3 separate regions of the Homo sapiens genome follow, and all the other regions are linked to region 3. Evidence: promoter capture Hi-C in 16 types of primary human blood cells and fetal thymus (Javierre and others, 2016). All regions are on one chromosome and are shown on one strand. The core of a region is centred on a gene start or on the middle of the fragment in contact, and the rest is flanking DNA. Distances in the headings are between cores, read along the strand shown. Region 1 has its middle 190 kb from the start of SH3BGRL. Region 2 has its middle 140 kb from the start of SH3BGRL. Region 3 holds the start of HMGN5 (high mobility group nucleosome binding domain 5).

Region 1 (2,935 bases), core at 295-2,794, 190 kb after region 3:
TAGCTAACTGCCTTCTCTACCAAATACAATACATGAAGGCAATTAATGGAATATGCTATTGTCCCTGCTGTTGCAACTGGTCTAAAGTCCATATTGATATTCATTGTCTCACTCTTCTACCTGCAGTTTATTTTTCCCTCACTCTCAGCCATCACTGTAGTTATTACAGGTTGCTTGTCTGGTGGGATGACCAAAAATTTCAGCCTAAAGGGCTTTGGGCCCTTGGTTGACTTGCTTTTGCCAGGCTGTGATATCTGTATTTGTTCATTTATCATTATCATGAGGCATGAATGCACAAAGAAATACCCCAGTATCCTTGGGTTCTAAAAATTTCTCTCTACCTCAATCATGTGACAGTAAACCTAGCTCCACAAGGTGATTTGGGTCAGTTTTCCCCAGTAATATTAACTGTTTTTTTTTCTGCTTTCTGGTGCCTTTCATAAAAAATCCAAAAGAATTAAGTGGCAGATTGTTGTAACTTCATGTTCAATGGCATCCTTCCACTCTCCTTTTGTAGAAGCATTCTCCATTGAAAGCAAAGTCTCAAATCTGGCAGCGTCTAAGGGTTTAGGGATGAATAACCAAAGTCTACAAGTGTTGGAGAGAGGTGGCAATCCCATTGTTGCCTGGAACAATTTATTTCAGCTACTGCGGACACAAAATCATATTATATCAACTATTGTTTTAATGAATATACTACATACTGGAGCATCATGGTCCAACCTTTTAGAGTGAGTTCCCAAATAGAACCTACACTGGGTCTCTGCTAGGCCATTCAACTAAGCGGGCTGATTTCAGATTATATGATACGTGGTAGAACTAGTAACCCTGGGTGTAAGAGCACTAATTTAATTCACCTGCAACAAAGTGGCTGGATGGTATTATACATATCAAGGGCTCAGTGTCAGTCTCTGCTGCTAGCAGATTGGGCATTCAGCATAGAGGTAGCTATATCAACCTTTGTGAGGGGAAACTCATGCCTAGCTTTTATTTCTGCTACCATAGCCACTTTATTCAATGTACCATTAAAAAAGCACTGGGGTAGCTTAGGTGAGAGGCTGGCTGATATCCGTAGGATAAATTATCCTGTTCTCTTAGATATTGAGGAGCTCCTTAACATTAATGTTTGTCACAAACTTCATCCTTCACCCATTCCATAGGTCATCCCTGTACTGCTACTCTAGACCCCCTTGTCTCCAATTTCAGTCTTGCTATTTCTAGATTTCAAACGATCCAGTGAGTACATTTAACACCACCCAGACATCTATGGCTATCCACGCTTCTGGCCATTTCTTGTTCTAGGCTGTATCAGTTAGCTGTTTCTACAAAATAAATCACCTCAAAACCCAGTTGCTTAAAACAGTAAACTTGTATTTTCATTAATAACCCAAAAAAATGTTAGCTAGATAGTTCTGTTTTCCTGGATCAGCGTTGGTTTATTTCATCCAAGCTTGTTCAGGCACCTGCAGTCAACTGGTGGAACAGCTGGGAGATGGCTGGTATAGGAGGGCCTTACTTACGTGTCTGGTAGTTTGTTGCCTGTTGCCTAGGGCAGTTGGAGCCACATGGCAATTATCATCCAGAAGACTGTCTCAGACTTCTTCACATGGTGATACCAGGGTTCTGAAAGACAGAAGAGAAGCTTATTGAGTACTAGGCCCAGAATTGGTACTTATGCTGCATTTAATGAATCAAACAAATCGCCACGCCCACCCATTGTCAAGGAGTGGGGAAATAGACACTATCTTTTAATGGGAGGAGTTGAAAAGTCAGAAACAACAGGGTAAATCATTTCAGTTATTATTGCAATTAATTAACTATACACTAAGTTTATAACCAGGTGTACTAGTTAAAACAACCTCCCTACTTTTGTCCTTTAGAGACATCCATGTGTAAGTCATGCAGAGGCAGTAGCAGGCTACTTTTGGTTTACAATACATATTGAGTATTGAGCTTACCAAACTGTGAGCCAGGCCCTGGAATAGTTCCCCTATTTTCTGACAGCTGCTCATGGAGAACCCCATATGAGGAAGACACTTCAGTGCAACAGAGGAAGGTGACATATAGTTTGGGCTATCTGCTTGCATAACTTACTTGAGACCTTGAAAACAGTCTATTTTATAATGGATTGCTGTTGACTTGGTAAATCTGATAATAACCAGCTCATGATCTAGTGGCATAGTCACTTGATGTCCCTTAGTTATGTGCTCAGTTTCTATTAGGGTCTGCTTTTCCAAAAAGCAGTGCTCTGCTACAGAAAGTAAGACCTTGCTTTCTGAGATCTGTGCTATGACTGTTCAATTGAGATTAACTGGAGAATCCACATAGCATCCTCATCCACTACAGATGCCTCTAAAACCATCAAATCTACTAGGTCATATAGACTGAGAAACAGGACAGCTTTCACCTGATTCTTTTAAAGAGGCTTTTGTGATGTAAGGCATAAAATTAAGGCCCAATATTATATACTTCTTTGTTATCTGAAACCAGAAGGACATCAAAAGGCCTAACTGCAAAATTTTCATCCCTATTCTGTCACTGCAGATAACATCTCCTAGAAAGACCACCCTCCTTAACAAAGGGACTAAGCACAGTTCTTGCTTGTCCCAGAGTAGCAGGTTTCAGTTCTCTGTCAAATTATTCAAACAAATCAATGCCAACCCCTCATAGAACCAGGAGCCACCTCACCTTCTTTACATTACGAAGCCTGACTTCCACAGCCCCTCTTGTTCACTCTGTTCCCAAGTGCAATCGCAACATTGCCCTGAGTCATGTGTAGTGTTCTTTTCCTTTGGGCTATGAGTACATGTGACTAATAAATTTCCATTGATCTCATCTGTCTAATGTTGTGTATCTGGTCATGCCCAAAGCCCTAGGGTCTTCCCTAAAAAATGGGCTAATAGGAGGCAATTAGAACACCCTTTCTTACTGCTCA
Region 2 (2,806 bases), core at 101-2,600, 140 kb after region 3:
TCTCAGCTCGTCAAAGTCATTCTCCGTCCAGCTTTGTTCCCTTGCTGGTGAGGAACTCTGTTCCTTTGGAGGAGGAGAGGCGCTCTGCTTTTTAGAGTTTCCAGTTTTTCTGTTCTGTTTTTTCCCCATCTTTGTGGTTTTATGTACTTTTGGTCTTTGATGATGGTGATGTACAGATGGGTTTTTGGTGTGGATGTCCTTTCTGTTTGTTAGTTTTCCTTCTAACAGAGAGGACCCTCAGCTGCAGGTCTGTTGGAGTACCTGGCCGTGTGAGGTGTCAGTCTGCCCCTGCTGGGGGGTGCCTCCCAGTTAGGCTGCTCGGGGTTCAGGGGTCAGGGACCCACTTGAGGAGGCAGTCTGCCCATTCTGAGATCTCCAGCTGCGTGCTGGGAGAACCACTGCTCTCTTCAAAGCTGTGAGACATGGACATTTAAGTCTGCAGAGGTTACTGCTGTCTTTTTGTTTGTCTGTGCCCTGCCCCCAGAGGTGGAGCCTACAGAGGCAGGCAGGCCTCCTTGAGCTGTGGTGGGCTCCACCCAGTTTGAGCTTCCCGGCTGCTTTGTTTACCTAAGCAAGCCTGAGCAATGGTGGGCGCCCCTCCCGCAGCCTCGCAGCCGCTTTGCAGTTTGATCTCAGACTGCTATGCTAGCAATCAGCGAGACTCCGTGGGTGTAGGACCCTCTGAGCCATGTGCGGGATATAATGTCCTGGTGCGCCGTTTTTTAAGCCCATCGGAATAGCGCAGTATTCGGTTGGGAGTGACCCGATTTTCCAGGTGCAGTCTGTCACCCCTTTCTTTGACTGGGAAAGGGAACTCCCTGACCCCTTGCACTTCCTTAGTGAGGCAATGCCTCGCCCTGCTTCGGCTCGCGCACTGCGCGCACACCCACTGACCTGTACCCACTGTCTGGCACTCCCTAGTGAAGATGAACCCGGTACCTCAGATGGAAATGCAGAAATCACCGGTCTTCTGCATTGCTCATGCTGGGAGCTGTTGACCGGAGCTGTTCCTATTCGGCCATCTTGGCTCCTCCCTTAATAATTTCACTTTGGTTCCTTTTTTATAGTTTCTTTTTATTAAAATTCTCATTTTGTTCAATATATTGCTTTCTTGGTTTCCTTTAGTTCTTCATTCATAGTTTCCATTAGCTCTTTGAGTGTATTTAATACAGTTGACTTAAAGCCTTTGTGTGGTAAGTCCAATATCTGGTCTTCCTCAGGAATGATTTATTTTTTCCTTTGAATGGCTGTACTTTTTTGTTTCTTTGTATACTCATTGTATTTCAAAAATTGCACATTTGACTATTATAATGTAGTTACCAAGGTTGGTTGTTCTTTATTCCTGAAAGTTACAGTTTTTCTATTTTTCTATTGCAAAGATTGTATTCACTGAACTTGTGTTCACTGAAGTCTCTAGTTCTATTAGCTTCTGTTCAGCTTGTGTTTTCTGAGATTTTCTTAAGGTCGAGGAGTTCAAAAAAACAAACACATACAAAACACCACTCCCACTCTTTGAGTATTGGCTTTGTGCTATGGCAAGGCTTTTAGGCTTAGCCAAGCCATTTGCAAGTCTGACATAACCTTCACTTTCTGCTTGCCTTGAGTCTAGATATTAGCCAGAGGTGAAATCTTAGGGTCTTCTCAAGCCTTTTCTGAGCATGCATTCTGTCCTTAGCATTAAGTCTATTTTTAAATTCCCCGGTATATAGGAGGACTTTTGCATGCCCAAGTTTCCCGAAGAAACTTTCTTCTCAGGCTTTCCTACCAAGATTTAGACAGTGTGCTGTATGTATAGGTCATAGTGATTTGCTTCAGGTGGCTGTGTGTTTCTTATTCACCTTACAATGTTTTCAAGCAGTGCCCACTGGTTTTCCACCTCGAGTGAGTTCTGAGTTATGTACTTTTATATGTGTGCTATATACTGTAGTATTTTCTGCTGTTTTATTTCTTTTTCTCAACAAGGCCAGTAGCATACTACTAGATATTAATTTCACATAACCTCCTTTCTTTCCAAAGTCTCTGCATTACAGAATTAATATAAAAGGTACTTGGGATTTGAGAGTGACTCTTGCCTTATTCCACTAGCTTTCACCCATAGTGCAACCTTAGGAATATGTCTGTGTCTATCCTTTATCAGTGTAAAGGGAAACCTTTTCTTCTTTCAACCTCAACCGTGATCCCAGATATTTTAATTCTCTTCTGCTTTCTTTTTGGGAAATGGCGGTTGCGGTATATATTAACTTCCTGTGAATTCCATAACAAACTATCACAAATAAGTGGCTTAAGACAATGGAGATTTATTCTCTCACAGTTCCGGAAGCCAGAAGTTTGAAACGAAGCTATCAACATTTCTACATTCCCTCTGGAGACTCTAGAGGATAAAATGTTCTTAGTCTGTTTTGGCATCTGTTGGTTTCTGGAAGTGCTTGGCATGTGGCTGCATCACTGCCATCTCTGTTTCCATGATCACAATGCCTCCTCTTTCTTCTCTCTGTCTAATCATCTCCCTCTTCCTTACCCTTATAAGGAAAGTTGTCATTGGATTTAGGGTTCACTTGGATAATTAAGGGTGATCACCTCATCTCAAAATCCTTAATTACATTTACAAAGACCCCTTTTTCCAAATAAGGTAACATTCACAGGTTCCAGGGATTCAGATGTAGACATCTATTTTTGGGGGGAGGGGTCACCTTTTTACCCATGACAGGGGATTTAGGAGAAGAGAAAAGACCTTCCCAGTGGATGGTTGTCAGCGTGTTGTATAGGCAAAATTAGTAGAGGTTTTTATGCCACCCGGGTTAACAGT
Region 3 (2,888 bases), core at 22-2,521:
GTGGGAGTTGAACAATGAGAACACATGGACACAGGACAGGGAACATCACACCCCGGGGCCAGTCGGGGGGTGGGGGGCTGGAGGAGTGATAGCATTAGGTGAAATACCTAATGTAAACAACGAGTTGATGGGTGCAGCAAACCAACATGGCACATGTATACCTATGTAACAAACCTGCACGTTGTGCACATGTACCCTAGAATTTAAAGTATAATTAAAAAAAAATAAGAAGGTGGCCTCTGGAGTTCCTAACTCTGGAATGTACTAACCATATGATTTTAGGAAAACTATTTTTCTGAGTTTCAGTTTCTTCATCTGTAAAATTAATGTAATAGTACCCACCTCTTGAGGTTGTTTTAAGGACAACATGTAAAGAGATTAATTTGGAATTAGTATTTAAGACAGATTGGAGAAGGGAAAACCTGTGGGTAGGGAACAGTTAACAAAGCTATTGTAAGCACTGAGCCTAGGCAAAGACAGTAAACCACTAGACTGGAGACAGTGGAAAAACAGCAAAGGAAAAGAAGTAGGACAAGCGACTGACTCCTCTCCACTCTCATTCATCTTGCAAATTCCTTTTTTTCTGTTCATTTAACATAATCTGGGAACCTAAAACTACACTTTGAAGTATATGGTCTGTCTCTGGACATTATTAACTGTTTGCTCATTTCCTTAGAGCTACAAATAACCATCTGATCTCTCTCTTCACCATTTCAACATCTGCAATATGTTCTCCCAAATCCCTTACTTCAGTCAGTTAAAAAGCAAAACAAAACAAAAATCATCCATCTTTTTACACAATATTTTCAATCTTTTCTTTGTAATTTATTCCTTCATTCTTAAACTTGCCAATCAGGCCTCCTGCAAATTCCCACGGAAGCAGGGTTCCCTAATTTAACAAAACACAAAATTCAAAAAGAAAACCAATCCTGCCATTTCTGGGCTTAAGGAAACCTGAAACTTTCCTTCAAAACTCTGCAGCATTGCTCAGTACTTTAGTGCCTAATTCCTACAACGAGCTAAGATCAGAAAAATCACTACGTAATAGGAATCTTAAAATGCGCAAGGCTTTGAGAACATGGGTTTTCAACATACAGCTTGCTCTTTCAGGATCTGTCTTCTTATTTGCATATATTTCTGAGCAGGAAGTTATGCGCAGTACTTTTAGTCTCCGCGTGAAAAGGTCCTTCATGCTAATCTAATTCAATTCAGTTCTCCTTTTTCTTTCTTCTTCTCCTCGCCCTCTTCTCAGGGAAGGAATCGTCAAAAATCAATGTTTCAACAGATCTCGCGGTGCTATTCGAGATTCCCTATTAAAAAAAAATAGAATTGATGCAAACAGCCTGTTCCTTCCGGGGTTTTGGGCTGGAACTGCAGCGCTTAGAGAGCTCGGTGGAAGCTGCTAAAGGCGGAGGCGGGGCTCTGGCGAGTTCTCCTTCCACCTTCCCCCACCCTTCTCTGCCAACCGCTGTTTCAGCCCCTAGCTGGATTCCAGCCATTGCTGCAGCTGCTCCACAGCCCTTTTCAGGACCCAAACAACCGCAGCCGCTGTTCCCAGGATGGTGATCCGTGTATATATTGCATCTTCCTCTGGCTCTACAGCGGTAAGGAGAGTGGGGAGTCCACCTTTGTTGTTTTCCTACACACCAGTCCTCTGCTGCCCCAGAACCATTAAAATGCAGAAGTTCCTCTGGCAGCTTCTCCTTTGGAAGACTCATGCATCCCCGATCCCACCCTTCTTCTTCCCTTTTTTCCCTTTGTTGCATCGATTTCATTTTTTTTTTTTTCCACATAGAGTTCAGCTTTGTTTGCTTCGTGACGTTGGGGGGCACATTTCTGCTTTGAAGGAAAACGAAAGCTACCAAGTTTTGGGAGATGGGAGATGGTGCTATACGGTCTTTAGGGTTACGTGAAGTCAAGTAAAATCGCACACTGGTGAGTTTCAAGAGTGAGACATTTGATGAATACGCCCTAAGTACTGAGACAAGGAGGAGTGCACTTCTGTAAAGGATGGGGGTACACATGCTGTAACTGGTGGGGATTGAGTGGAGGCCTACCGAGGCATTGTAATTATTCTGGGTGAGTGAGACCCTGGTAATAGAGTTATTTTGAGAGTGTGTAGAAGAAAGTGGTTAACTTGAGCTTGAAGGCCTGTTAGAACTAGACAAATTGGGAGGGGAAGTTGGTAACAATGACGTAAATTTTTTTTTAACTTAATATGACACGAGATTCAGTTTTCCCCCCATATTGTCCCTTATTTTGACTGTTTCTATTCTTTCAAAATATTTTACTTTTAAATTTCTCTCACTGCTTCAAGTATATTGAGAACTGGATAGGGAGCTCAGTGGCTTCTTGTGTAGTGGCAGCCTGAGTTGCTGCTGCTTCAAATGATAGGACTTTCTCTTTCATGGATTCACTTACTCTTAATTTAGAATAACAAATTTTCAGCAGCTGTCGGGAGAATATGATAAACTGGGGTGCAAGATGAGTGTATATCCATGATAAATGAAAGTGCTTCTGCTTTTTACAACTCAAGAGAAAGGCAGACAGTGGCAAGAACAGATGTGTGGGTTCAGATTGTAGGGTATAGGAACCCCTTCCCTCTTCTTGAGCTTTAGAGCAGCAGCTAATCCAGGTTGTTGTGTGTTTTTATTTTTTGGCTTGTTTATTTACACCTGAGAGGATGTGGAATGGAAGTGGAGGTTATGTTAAATCACAAGAACCTTGATATTTGAACTTTGTCTTCTCTGGCCACCATGTGTGGATATGTTTATGCAATTTTGGAATATCAGAAAATTTAATCTTACATTTTTTGAATAAGTTTAGGTTAAAAAAAAGAACACCTTTTATATTTCCTTTGGACCTAATTTTATGAGCCTCTTGCTTTA

What was found. The method cuts DNA at HindIII sites, captures the fragments that hold promoters and counts their contacts. A CHiCAGO score of 5 or more calls a contact.
Region 1: a contact is called between a fragment that was not itself captured here and the fragment with the promoter of HMGN5 in region 3, in 4 of 17 cell types (monocytes, M2 macrophages, M0 macrophages and 1 more). The highest score is 9.8, in monocytes.
Region 2: a contact is called between a fragment that was not itself captured here and the fragment with the promoter of HMGN5 in region 3, in 2 of 17 cell types (M2 macrophages and M0 macrophages). The highest score is 6.1, in M2 macrophages.

What each region holds. Positions count from the first base shown.
Region 1 is chrX:81,390,584-81,393,518 of GRCh38, forward strand. No RefSeq gene overlaps it. Among named protein-coding and RNA genes, the nearest start is that of SH3BGRL, 190 kb to the left of the region's middle. The HindIII fragment of the contact is 192 bases long and covers 1,449-1,640 here.
Region 2 is chrX:81,344,872-81,347,677 of GRCh38, forward strand. No RefSeq gene overlaps it. Among named protein-coding and RNA genes, the nearest start is that of SH3BGRL, 140 kb to the left of the region's middle. The HindIII fragment of the contact is 4,166 bases long and covers 1-2,806 here.
Region 3 is chrX:81,200,642-81,203,529 of GRCh38, forward strand. HMGN5 (high mobility group nucleosome binding domain 5) reads right to left here and starts at 1,272. Exons shown (of 7, transcript NM_030763.3): 1 at 1,096-1,272. It overlaps SH3BGRL (SH3 domain binding glutamate rich protein like), which reads left to right and starts at 1,461. Exons shown (of 4, transcript NM_003022.3): 1 at 1,461-1,604. The coding sequence starts at 1,560. RefSeq lists enhancers at 1,117-1,366, 1,487-1,656. The HindIII fragment of the contact is 6,013 bases long and covers 1-2,888 here.